Regions from separate parts of the Homo sapiens genome. Here region 1 is linked to region 2. The links are contacts of gene promoters, found by promoter capture Hi-C in blood cells and fetal thymus (Javierre and others, 2016). All regions are on one chromosome and are shown on one strand. Each heading gives the region's core, a stretch centred on a gene start or on the middle of the fragment in contact. The rest is flanking DNA. Distances are from core to core; before and after follow the strand shown. Region 1 overlaps NEMF (nuclear export mediator factor). Region 2 holds the start of STYX (serine/threonine/tyrosine interacting protein).

What was found. Contacts are between HindIII fragments. The CHiCAGO score rates a contact against its expected background, and 5 or more counts as called.
Region 1: a fragment that was not itself captured here is called in contact with the fragment with the promoter of STYX in region 2 in 1 of 17 cell types (naive CD8 T cells); the score reaches 5.8 in naive CD8 T cells.

What each region holds. Positions count from the first base shown.
Region 1 is chr14:49,844,184-49,850,429 of GRCh38, forward strand. NEMF (nuclear export mediator factor) reads right to left here. Exons shown (of 33, transcript NM_004713.6): 4 at 1,957-2,082. Among named protein-coding and RNA genes, the nearest start is that of NEMF, 5.5 kb to the right of the region's middle. The HindIII fragment of the contact is 1,886 bases long and covers 2,156-4,041 here.
Region 2 is chr14:52,728,811-52,735,062 of GRCh38, forward strand. STYX (serine/threonine/tyrosine interacting protein) reads left to right here and starts at 1,356. Exons shown (of 11, transcript NM_145251.4): 1 at 1,356-1,721. The coding sequence starts at 1,665. RefSeq lists silencers at 1,041-1,500, 1,571-1,650 and an enhancer at 5,101-5,395. The HindIII fragment of the contact is 7,384 bases long and covers 1-6,252 here.

The DNA of each region.
Region 1 (6,246 bases), core at 1,849-4,348, 2.9 Mb before region 2:
TTCCATGGATGGGGGGTGCAGGGGTATGGTTTCCGGATGAAACTGTTCCACCTCAGATCATCAGGCATTAGATTCTCGCAAGAAGCATGCAACCTAGATCCCTTGCATGCACAGTTCACAATAGGGTTCACGCTCCTATAAGAATCTAATGCCACCACTGATCTGACAGGAGGCAGAGCTCAGGTGAGTAATGCTCACTCGCATACTGCTCACCTCCTGCCGTGTGGCCTGGTTCCACAGACCAGTTCCAGTCTGCGGCACAGGGGTTGAAGATCCCTGGTATAAAAGATTAAAAATGGAACACCTGTATAGGGCACTTACCATGAATGGAGCATGCAGGACTGAAAACTGCTCTGGGTGAGTGACAGTGAGTAAATGTGAAGGCCTGGGACATTACTGCATACTACTGTAGACTTGATAAATACTGCACACTTGGGCTACACTAAATTTGTTTTTTATTTTTTAATTTTTAAAAAAATTATGCTTACCTCAGACCAGATTAAATTTATGTATTTATTTATTTATATACATACACACGCACGCGCACGCGCGCGCACACACACACACACACACACACACACATATATTTTTTTTTTCCTTTTTGAGACTGAATCTCACTCTGTCACCTGAGCTGGAGTACAATGGCATGATCTCAGCTCACTGCAACCACTGCCTCCCAGGTTCAAGTGATTCTCCTGCCTCAGCCTCCCGAGTAGCTGGGACTACAGGCACGCACCACCACACCAGGCTAATTTTTGTATTTTTAGTAGAGATGCAGTTTTGCCACATTGGGCAGGCTGGTCTCAAACTCCTGACCTCAGGTGATCCACTCGCCTTGGCCTCCCAAAGTGCTGGGATTACAGGTGTGAGCCACCACACCTGGCCCAGATTAAGTTAGTTAGTTAGTTAGTTAGTTAGTTTATTTTTGAGACAAAGTCTTGCTCCGTTGCCCAGGCTGGAGCACAGTGACACAATCTGAGCTCACTGGAACCTCTGCCTCCCAGGTTCAAGTGATTCTCCTGCCTCAGCCTCCCGAGTAGCTGGGATTATAGGTGCCCGCCACCACGCCCAGCTAATTTTTGTATTTTTTAATAGAGACGGGGTTTTGCCATGTTGGCCAGGCTGGTCTTGAACTCCTGACCCCAGGTGATCTGACCCCAGGTGATCCGCCCTCCTCGGCCTCCCAAAATGCTAGGATTACAGGTGTGAGCCACTGTGCCCGGCCTGAGTCATTGCGCTCAGCCAAATTTATTTTTAAGATGTTTTTCTTTCTTCAATAATAAATTAACCTTTGCTTCCTGGAACTTTTTTACTTTATAAACTTTAAACTTTTTAGCTTTTTGACTCTTGTAATAACACTTAGCTTAAAACACATATCGTACAGCTGTACAATACTTTCTTTCTTTAGATCCATATTCTCTAAGCTTTTTTTCCATTTTAAATTGTTTTGTTTTTACTTTTAATGTTTTTGTTAAAAACTAACACACAAACTCACACACCAGCCTAGGCCTACACAGAGTCAGGATCAAGATGTCACTAAGCAGTAAGAATTTATTAGATCCATTACAATGTTACAGGACCAACGTTTATATGCAGTCTGTTGTTGACTGAAACATCACTATACATACAGCGCATCAGTGCATGACCGTATTTGACTATTTTCTGGTTGCATATTAGTCCTGAAATGTCAAGTACCAAATAATTTACTTCTCAGATCTTCATCTCCTACATTCATAAGGCTATTCTAAATGGCTAAAGTCTGCCTAAACTCAGACCTACAGATAAAATGAAGGTTATTACTGGAAAATTTTATTTTATTTGTGTGGCACCCATTTCCTAGGGTAGTAACAACCTTTGACACAGAAAAAAAATGTTCCCCCACTCATGTTATATAGCACTATTACAAAATGATTAATAAGAAATTTTCCTTCACCATATCCCACAAATTTAACTTACCCTATCATAGAGCTCAATGATTAAATGGTAAGCAGCTTCATCACTTCCAAATTGAAAATCTACAATTCTATCCACACCAAGCTGTTTTGCACTGACTAATCTCCGACTCTTCAAATGTTTTCGGCACTAGCAAGAGAAAGAAAAAGGCATTCATTTAGTAAAAGTGAATTCCTAACCATTTGGTATTGGTTTATAAATAAGCTTCTTTTCATTATCATCAGGAATATTTAAAACGTTGTGAATAACAGTATAGTCATAAAGTAATAGATTGCAGATGATAATCAGAGGGAAAACATTTTATTATAAACACTAACTCTGAAACAGTGTTTTATTTGCATTTTTTTAAGACAGGGTCTCACTCTGTCACCCAAACTGGAGCCCAGTGGTGTGATCATGGCTCGCTGCAGCCTCGACTTCCCTGGCTCAGGTGATCCTCCTGCATCAGCCTCCTGAGGATTGGGACCACAGGCACATGCCACTATCCCCAGCTAATTTTTTCATTATTTGTAGAGACAGGGTCTCACTATGTTGCCCAGGCTAATCTCAAACTCCTGGGCACAAGCAATCCTCCTGCCTTGGCCTCCCAAAGTGCTGGGATTACAAGCGTAAGCTACTGAGCCAGGCTTTTATTTTCAATTTTTAAGTAGAGAATGATGGACCTATAGCAAAATTTGCTTTGTTGCTTTATACCACTGCTAAATTCCTTGTTGTGGTCCTAATGACCTCACTCATAAGCCACAACCTTTATTTATTTACTTTATTTTGAGAGAGAGTCTCGCTCTGTCGCCCAGACTGGAATGCAGTGGCACAGTCTCAGCTCACTGCAACCTCCGCCTCCCAGGTTCAAGTGATTCTCCTGCCTCAGCCTCCTGAGTAGCTGAAATTACAGGCGTGTGCCACCACACCCGGCTAATTTTTCTATTTTTAGTAGAGACGGGGTTTCACCATGTTGGTCAGGCTGGTCTCGAAGTTCTGACCTCGTGATCCGCCCACCTCAGCCTCCCAAAGTGCTGGGATTACAGGCATGAGCCACTGTGCCCAGCCAACCTTTACTTATTTATTTATTTATTTATTTATTTGGAGACGGAGTCTCACTTTGTCACCCAGGCTGGAGTACAGTAGCACAATCTTGGCTCACTGCAACTTCTGCCTCCCAGGTTCAAGCAATCCTCCTGCCTCACCCTCCCAAGAGTAGCTGGGACTACAGGCGCCCACTACCACGCCTGGCTAATTTTTTGTATTTTAGTAGAGACGGGGTTTCTCCACGTTGCCCAGGCTGGTCTCGAACTCCTGAGCTCAGGCAATCTGCCCACCTCGGCCTCCCAAAGTGTTAGGATTACAGGCGTGAGCCACCACACCCAGTCCCTTTATTTTTTTTAAGTCTCTTTGATGACACTTCTAAGTATGCCAAATTTCCCTTTTGTATGCTTCATTTATGTTCAAAATTAATTAATTGTTTCCACTAATCTTCTACTTCTAATACATATCAACTATGGACCATGAGCTTATGGCTTATGGTATCCTGTAAATAGTCCACCACCTTATATCCAGTTACCCCTACCAATTCTTTTTTTTTTTTTTTTTTTTTTTTTTTTCTTTAAGAGAGTCTTTGCCAGGAGCGGTGGCTCAGGCCTGTAATCCCAACACTTTGGGAGGCCGAGGTAGGTGGATCACTTGAGGTCAGGAGTTCAAGACCAGCCTGGCCAATATGGTGAAACCCCATCTCTACTAAAAATACAAAAATTAGCTGGGCGTGCTGGCGCATGCCTGTAATCCCAGCTACTCAGGAGGCTGAGGCAAAAGAATCGCTTGAACCCAAGAGGCGGAGGTTACAGTGAGCCGAGATGACACTACTGCAATCCAGCCTGGGCAACAGAGCAAGACTCTGTCTCAAAAAAAAAAAAAAAAAAGAAAGGGACAGAGTCTCTCTGTTGCCCAGGCAAGGCTCAAACTCCTGGACTCAAGCAATCTCCCACCTTAGCCTCCCAAGTAGCTAGGATTACAAGTGCCCTGCCACTGTGCCCAGCTTATTCCTACAAACTTTACTAATATAACCCAAAGAGAATTTTCCTGGTATCGTCTCTAAGCTTTTGATAACCTATTTCAATCCAATGTAATAACTCTCATTCTTTATTAAATCCCCTTCCTCCTATCCCTGGCCATAAGGTTCTTTTTCTTATTAACAATTAAAATAATATTAGTATATCAAATCCAAATACAATTTACTTGGCAATACCTACTCTTTTAGATTACATGTACCGTCTTTTTGTACAAATATTGAAGTATGACATGGACTGGTAACAAGACTACTCTGTAGCCTCTAAAATATCTTACAATTGTTTCTAATTTTTTAATATAAAAGACCCTTTAGTTAAGACCAATAAGAAAGAATGCTTTCTTCAAGACTCAAATACGGTCTGGGTATGGCAGCTCACGCCTGTAATCCCAGCACTCTGGGAGGCCGAGGCAGGCGGATCACAACGTCAGGAGTTCAAGACCAGCCTGGCCAACATGGTGAAACCCCATCTCTACTAAAAATACAAAAATTAGCCAGGCATGGTGGCGTGTGCCTGTAATCCCAGCTACTTGGGAGGCTGAGACACGAGAATCACTTGAACCCAGGAGACTGAAGTTGCAGTGAGCCAAGACTGCGCCACTGCCCTCCAGCCTGGTGACAGAGCAAGACTCCGTCTCAAAAAAAAAAAAAAAAAAAAAGACTTAAATACGAAACAAATTTTACAGAAGTTAATCTAAGACCACCTTCAAAAAAAAGACAAAAAATCCACTCCTTGACAAAGGTTGAAAAAAAACAACAATAAACACATAAATTCATTATTAAAATTAATGCTAACATTTTCATAACTAAGAAGAGTTCTTCTCCAGACCTTATAGCCCAAATTGACTGAAATTCGCATTTTATATACTCACATAGGCAGAATAACTTCCTAGGATAAACAATCTGCTCCTCCTTAACTCAGTAGTTTTAAGAATGACCTATACTGATTTGATTAAACAGTAACCTACATGTAGGGCTATCTTTAAATCCCTAGAGGAAAATCACAATCAGTTCTTCCAGAGTCCCTGAGTAATAATTTTATTCAAGAAAAATAAAGACAAAAGGCATCATTGAAAGGACAGAAGTTCACACAAAGGAATAGTAAAAAGGGGATTATTTATCATGGAGAGTACAGATGGACACATAGTACATATTTAAAGCTTGTTTCATTTCCCTATCAACAGCTTGGTGAAATCAACCTGCTGCTGTGTGCCACAAAGCTATAGCTGTCATCCCCAAATGTGAATACTGGAACAACCACTGTGATTTATCACATAATAGACATAACTCTGCCTGTGCCATGCAACAGTAACAGCTCTTTGATTTATAAAGTGCTTAACATTGTCTGCTCCATTGAGGAAATCTTTCTATACATTTAGATTGACACGTACACCTAACCCATAGAATTCTAAGTATTTTTTAAAGTGACTGACCTATTAGTGTAGTCTGATTTGGAGATGTTTACACAATCCCAGTGTCCTATTTCATTGGCCTGTTACCTCATCCATAAAACTGAAATTGTATTTGTTCTTCACAGTCCACTGAGTTGCTAAACAACTTAAATGAAATACATATTATTCATCTGCCTTAAAAAGTGCTACACAACAGGTAGCATTATTATTGTCATTATTATTAAGGACAGGCCCCAAAAGAACTATTTTGGGTTACTATTAAATAAATTAAACTTTAATAATCTGAGAATTTTGTGAAAGCCCTTGTGATATGGAAACACTTACCTAATTTGTAATCCAAAACAGACTCTAAATTGCTGGGGGGTAAAGCTCTTCTCTGTAAAGCCTCTAATGAAATAACTCAATGCCATAACAGATACATTGCCAAAGTAAGGAGCGGAGCAGGAAGGAAATGAACATGTATGGAGTTCTAATATGTGTCAGGTATTGTTTCAGGTGCCTTTCTTTTTTTTTTAGATGGAGTCTCGCTCTGTCGCCCAGGCTGGAGTGAAACAGTGCGAACTCAGCTGACTGCAATCTCTATCTCCCAGGTTCAAGTGGTTCTCCTGCCCCATCCTCCCAAGTAGCTGGAATTACAGGTGTGTGCCACCACGCCTGGCTAGTAGAGACAGGGTTTCACCATGTTGGCTGGGCTGGCCTTGAACTTCTGACCTCAAGTGATCCACCTGCCTCAGCCTCCCAAAGTGTTGGAATTACAGGCATGAGCCACCGCACCTGGTCTGTTTTAGGTGTTTTATATATCATTTCAATTAATCCAATAAT
Region 2 (6,252 bases), core at 106-2,605:
TCTCATACTCAAATTATTGTACAGTTCTATTTCTATGTGTTGGCAGTGCATTTTATGTGACAAAAAGTAGAATGTAGGGGGAGGTTTAAGTCAAATATCTATGTGATCTTTTCACTTATAATTTGCATTTAGTTAAGGAGTGACTATCTTGCCTTTTACCTTTGTGCTGGCGGTGGTTTTTTAAAGAATCAATTTGGTGTACAAATCCTTTCTTTCTTTTTTTATTTTTGATTTTTTTTGAGATGGAGTTTCGCTCTTGTTGCCCAGGCTGTAGTGCCATTGCACTATCTCAGCTCATTGCAACCTCCGCCTCCCGGATTTAAGCGGTTCTCCTGCCTCAGCCTTCTAAGTAGCTGCGATTACTGGCATGCGCCACCACACCCAGCTAATTTTTGTATTTTTAGTAGAGACGGGGTTTCTCCATGTTGGTCAGGCTGGTCTCAAACTCCCGACCTCAGGTGATCCACACGCCTCAGCCGCCCAAAGTGCTGGGATTACAGGCGTGAGCCTCCGCGCCCGGCCCAAATCTTTTCACCATGGGTTTACAGGCATAACGCCACCACACCCAGGGAATTTTAAAATTGTTTTTTAGAGAGGGGGGTCTTACTATTTTGCTCAGGCTGGCAAACTCCTTTTAAAAGATATTGAAAGCCATCTGGTTTATTATTTTTATTTCAAAATATAATAATGGAAGAAATTTTACAGTATTATATACAATTTACTGAGTCAGCTATCAGTTCCTTTTTCTGATTTTTTTCTAGTTGCCATTCTTGATATTTTCTAGGTAATCTAAACTGAGTTGTATTTTCAAGTACTCTTAAAATACTTTAAAAAATTTTAAATTGAGCCGTTTAATTCTTTGCTTAAAGGTGATGGGTATTTTATTTTCTGTATGGCACCACGTGATTTTAAATTGAACTCTTCATTTATTAGTCATTTGGTTATAAACTCAGCATAGATTGCGCAGAATTTTGAGAGGGGAGAAACTATAGCTTTCCTTTCGGATGCCACTGGTGGGTAGCCTGTTTTGCCTGTTTGTTCTTATGTTAAAGAAGGGCTCTACGTCCTGTCTGGAAAGGGCGGAGCTGGCTCGGACCGCCCCACTGCCTTTCCCAGGACCTTCACTCGTCCTGTCCCACCGCAGCCCCGCCTCCTCCACGCCGGGTGAGCTGTGGCCTAGCAGCATCCGAGGCTCCGCCCCCCCCACCCCCAAGCGTCTGCGCTCTAGCGAAGGGGCGGAGCAGGGCGGTGGCGCGCTGACACCTGGCGGCGGCGGAGGGCGGGCAGAAGGCGAGCGTGGGCTGGGATTGGCTGAGGCGACGCGGGTGGAGGGGGCGGGAAGGAGGCGGGGAGACGGTTGTCGGGCTGGTTCCTGTGCTGGATCCTGGGCGGCCTGAGGGGTACGGAGACTCTGGGGGAGGGAGACGGCAGCGGCATGGCGGCCGGGTGTAAGACGCCCGACCCTCCTCTTCCCTGTCTTCGCCGCCGCCGCTGCTGGAGTCACTGGGACCCTGTAGTCTGCGTGTGTTAGTTGTAATCCCGCCGCCCTCCTGTCAGCCCTCCGCTCCGCCGGCCCTCCTTCCTTCCGCCGCCGCAGCCAGCCCGAGGGTCGGCCGGCTGTGTAACACTCTCCCACCCCACCCACCAGCCCGCGGGCCAGCACCATGGAGGACGTGAAGCTGGAGTTCCCTTCCCTTCCACAGTGCAAGGAAGACGCCGAGGTGAGTCGCTCCCGTGGCTGCCACGCACAGGCCTCTCCCTGTGGCTCCGGCCGAGGGGCGACCCCAGTCCCCAACCGTCTTAGCCGCCACCTGTACGGGCGCCCTGCCTCCTAAGGGCGTCCCGGGACCTCTGAAGCCGAGCGGTCGGCTCCAATCCCCACTGAGTTGCTCGTCCTCTCCAGACCCCGCGGAGGGGCAGCGTCTGGTGTACTTACATTTGAGAAGAGGAAAAGCAATCCCTTAGTCCCTAGGCTTGGCATCCAGGACTGACCTGGAGTAAGGTTCCTCTTTTATTGTCAAAGTAACAAGAGAGCGAAGTTGGTTTAGTCTCCTTTTGAGGAATATCTGTGGTGTAAACGATTCACTTGTGGGACACATGGCCCCACATGTGAAATAGACTCGGCGCCTGAAGTTTGGAAGCGCGCCTTCGAAAAGTTTCCCAAAGTTTTTTGTTTGTTTTTAGACAAAGCTATGACCCGCACAACAAAGTGTCTCAAAGCTAGCTCATCTTAATCTGAGAACTCTTAATCAGAAATCTTGACCTTTGGAGGAAAATTAATATTGAAAGTAAAATACTATATACCTTTTCTCCTGGTTTCTAATTTGTGGCTATTTTTACTCCACCTTAGATCCCTGCCTGCTGTTTCTACTCGGATTTTTTTTCATCTGTTGCTAGTTTAACATTTTACGGCATTGCAGACTACTAAATTAGAATTTTCTGGAGGCTAAATTAACAAGACGAAGATACTCAGCTATACTTTAGTAGGATTAAGAAAGAAAATCTAACATCGCTAGTTAAAAATACCTTTAAAGTAGTTGGGAAAAATAAAGCCCTATTTTTAGGAGACCATTCAATTTATTCCGAATATTTATTCTATTGAATATCTTCATTGGAGGTTCACTTTTTTTTTTTTTTTTTTTTTGAGACGGAGTCTTGCTCTGTCGCCAGGCTGGAGTGCAATGTGGCGCGATCTCGGCTCACTGCAACCTCCGCCTTCCGGGTTCAAGCGATTCTCCTGCCTCAGCCTCCTGAGTAGCTGGAACTACAGGCGCGCACCACCACGCCCAGCTAATTTTTGTGTTTTTAGGGGAGACGGGTTTCACCATTTTGGCCAGGGTGGTCTCGATCTCCTGACCTTGTGATCCGCCCGACTCGGCCTCCCAAAGTGCTGAAATTGCAGGTATGAGCCACCGCGCCCGGCCTAGGTTCACATTTTTGTTTGGAGGGCTCTCTTGTGGTATTGATGCTTGACAATTACATTTGTTTTAAGAGTAGAGACTTTGTTTGTGACTATCACTGTTGCAAAATGTAGTGCAGTGGTGTGATCTCGGTTCACTGCAGTCTCGAACTCCCATGCTCAAGCCATCCTTTCACCTCAGCCTCTGGAGTAGCTGGGACCATGCCGGGCTAATTTTTCTTTTTTTTTTTTTTTGTAGCGATGGGTTTTTTCTCCAGGCTGGTCTCGAACTCTTGGCCTCAAGATCCTCCCGCCTTGTCCTCCGAAAGTGTTGGGATTACAGGTGTGAGCCACTGCACCTGGCCCAAGAATATACTCATGGTTTTTTTTTTTTTTTTTTTTTTGACACAGAGTTTCACTCTTGTTGCCCCAGGCTGGAGTGCAGTGGCGCTGTCTCAGCCCACCGCAGCCTCTGCCTCGGGTCCCGGTTCAAACAGTTCTCCTGCCTAAGCCTCCTGAGTAGCTGGGGATTACAGGCGCGCACCGCCAGGCCCAGCTTTTTTTTTTTTTTTTTTGAGACAGAGTCTCACTCTGTCGCCCAGGCTGGAATGATCTTGCAGTGGTGCGATCTGGGCTCACTGCAAGCTCTGCCTCCCGTGTTCACGCCATTCTCCCGCCTCAGCCTCCCGAGTAGCTGGGACTGCAGGCACCCGCTACCACACCGGGCTAATTTTTTTGTATTTTTAGTAGAGACGGGGTTTCACCATGTTGGCCAGGATGGTCTCAAACTCCTGACCTTGTGATCCGCCTGGCTTGGCCTCCCAAAGTGCAGGGATTACAGGCGTGAGCTACCGCGCCCGGCCAATATACTCTTAGAAAACAGGAGGTCATATTTAGGCTAGTTATAAAAATGAATTTATACTTAACATACAATAATGTGAATGAAGAGTATGCTTTTATTTATTTATTTATTTTTTTGAGACGGAGTTTCACTCTTGTTGCCCAGGCTGGAATGCAGTGGCGTGATCTCCGCTCACTGCAACCTCCGCCTCCCACGTTCAAAAGATTCTCCTGCCTCAGCCGCCTGAGTAGCTGGGATTACAGGCGCCCGCCACCACTCCCGTCTAATTTTTGTACTTTTAGTAGAGACGGGGTTTCACCATGTTGGCCCTGCTGGTCTGGAACGCCAGACCTCAAGTGATCCGCCTGCCTCGGCCTCCCAAAGTGCTGGGATTACAGGCTTGAGCCACCGCGAAGGAGTATGCTTTCATATCCTCAAAATGATTCAGTAATTTCAGCACTTAACTGCAAGCAACCTTACAAATAATGTAGAGGAGTCCCACATTCCAGGTGAAGAAATTGTACCTTACTGAAAATAAGTGATGTGCCAAATTAACAACACAGTAGCACAAGACACAGAAGGACCTCGGCCTCCTAATTCATTGTTCTTTTTAATACACTTCAATTCTTCCCTGCCCTAATCTTAAAAATTCTAGTTTAAAATTTTCCCGGACTTTGCATTTAATCTGTTACTGTGTATATCATTATGTATGCCTTATTCCTGCAAAACTGATAAATTCTTGCTGGGAATATATACCTGTCTTTTCTGTGTGGGACTTGAAAACACACTCTTTTTTTTATGCTACCAGATGTGTGGGGGTTTTTCCATACCAAGCAGTTTTCCAGCAGGCATGAACTGAATGTCCCATAATTCAATTCTGACACATATGTACCTGAAGTTAGTCAGATCCCACAGGTTAATGGCTCAGTCCCGCAAGGCTGCCCCCAACCTCAGATGGTAATCACAAGTAGTAGGTTGTCACCTATACACTCCTGACTGACTGTAAATCAGGGTTCCCGTTACTCCCTCCTTGGTTCAGTTAACTTGCTAGAGTGACTTACAGGACTCAGGGAAGTACATTTACGGGTTTATTATAAAGGATACTACAAAAGATCAGTGAACAGCCAGTAGGAAGAGATGAATAGGGCAAGGTATGGGGGAAGGGGCACACCACCATCCCAGTGTCACCAGTAGAGTCATGATTGCAAGCTGTCCAGGTTCTTGGCGTTTTGAACAAAGAATTGGACAAAACTCCAAGCAAAGAAAGAATGAAGCAACAAAAGAACAAAAGCAGGGATTTATTGAAAACAAAAGTACACTCCACAGTGTGGGAGCTGCCCTAGCAGCACTCCCCCCCGACCCCCGCTGCTTTACCGAATCTTCTTGGGTCCAAATACCCCCTAGAACTTTCCCATTGGCCATTCCATGCTCACCTCATGTAAATGAAGAGGTGGCTTGCAATTGGTCTGATTGGTTGCCAGACCCACCCCCACATCAGTCCGCTTGGTTGTGGACAGCGACCATTCAGTGGCTAGAGTGAAGTTACAAAGTTGCAAACGAAGATTCCACCCGCAGTCAGTCTGATTTGTTGAGGACAGCCAATTTCCCGTCTACTGTGCAGAAAAGGTAGGTGGTTTGCAACGGGAGTAGCCTCTGGTCCTTTTGTTACTTAGGCGTGGAAAGTTAGGGTTTTCCCTTCAAGTTAGTTCTGGGAAGTCGGGGTGAAACAGCCTTAGATTCCCTGCCTCCAGACCCTATTCACCTGCCTCACTAGCACCTCCAGTGTTTTCATCCAGAAGCTCAACAAATCTTATTCAACGGTTTTTATAGAACTTCATCTCCATCCCCTCCCATAGAGGTGTGTGTGTGTGTGAGGCTGAGAGTTCAACCCTCTTGTCACATGGTCTTTCTGGTGACTGGCCCCACCCTAAATCACTTCATTAGCATAATCAGGTTTGATCAAAAATAGTGGCTCATAAATAACCAAAGACACTCCTATTAGAAAATTCCAAGAGTTTTAGGAGGACTGTGACAGGAACTGGAGAGAAAGACCATGTATTTCATATTATATCACAGGGACAGAGGTAATGGTTAAAGCTAGTGGATAATGATGCAAGTATTGTCTGCTGAAAGCCAATTCGTTCCGTATTTCTTAATATTGCATGTTTGGTATCTTTTGGTTGCAAGCAACAAAAACGAATTTAAGAAAAAGAAGAAGTAATTAAATCCGGCCGGGCGTGGTGGCTCACGCCTGTAATCCCAGCACTTTGGGAGGCCGAGGCGGACGGATCACGAGGTCAGGAGATCAAGACCATCCTGGCTAACACGGTAAAACCCCGTCTCTACTTAAAAAAAAATTAGCCAGGTATGGTGGCGGGCGCCTGTAGTCCCAGCTACTTGGGAGGCTGAGGCAGGAGAATGGCATGAACCCGGGAGGCGGAGCTTGCAGTGAGCCGAGATCTAGCCACTGCACTCCAGCCTGGGAGACAGAGCGAGACTCCATCTCAAAAAA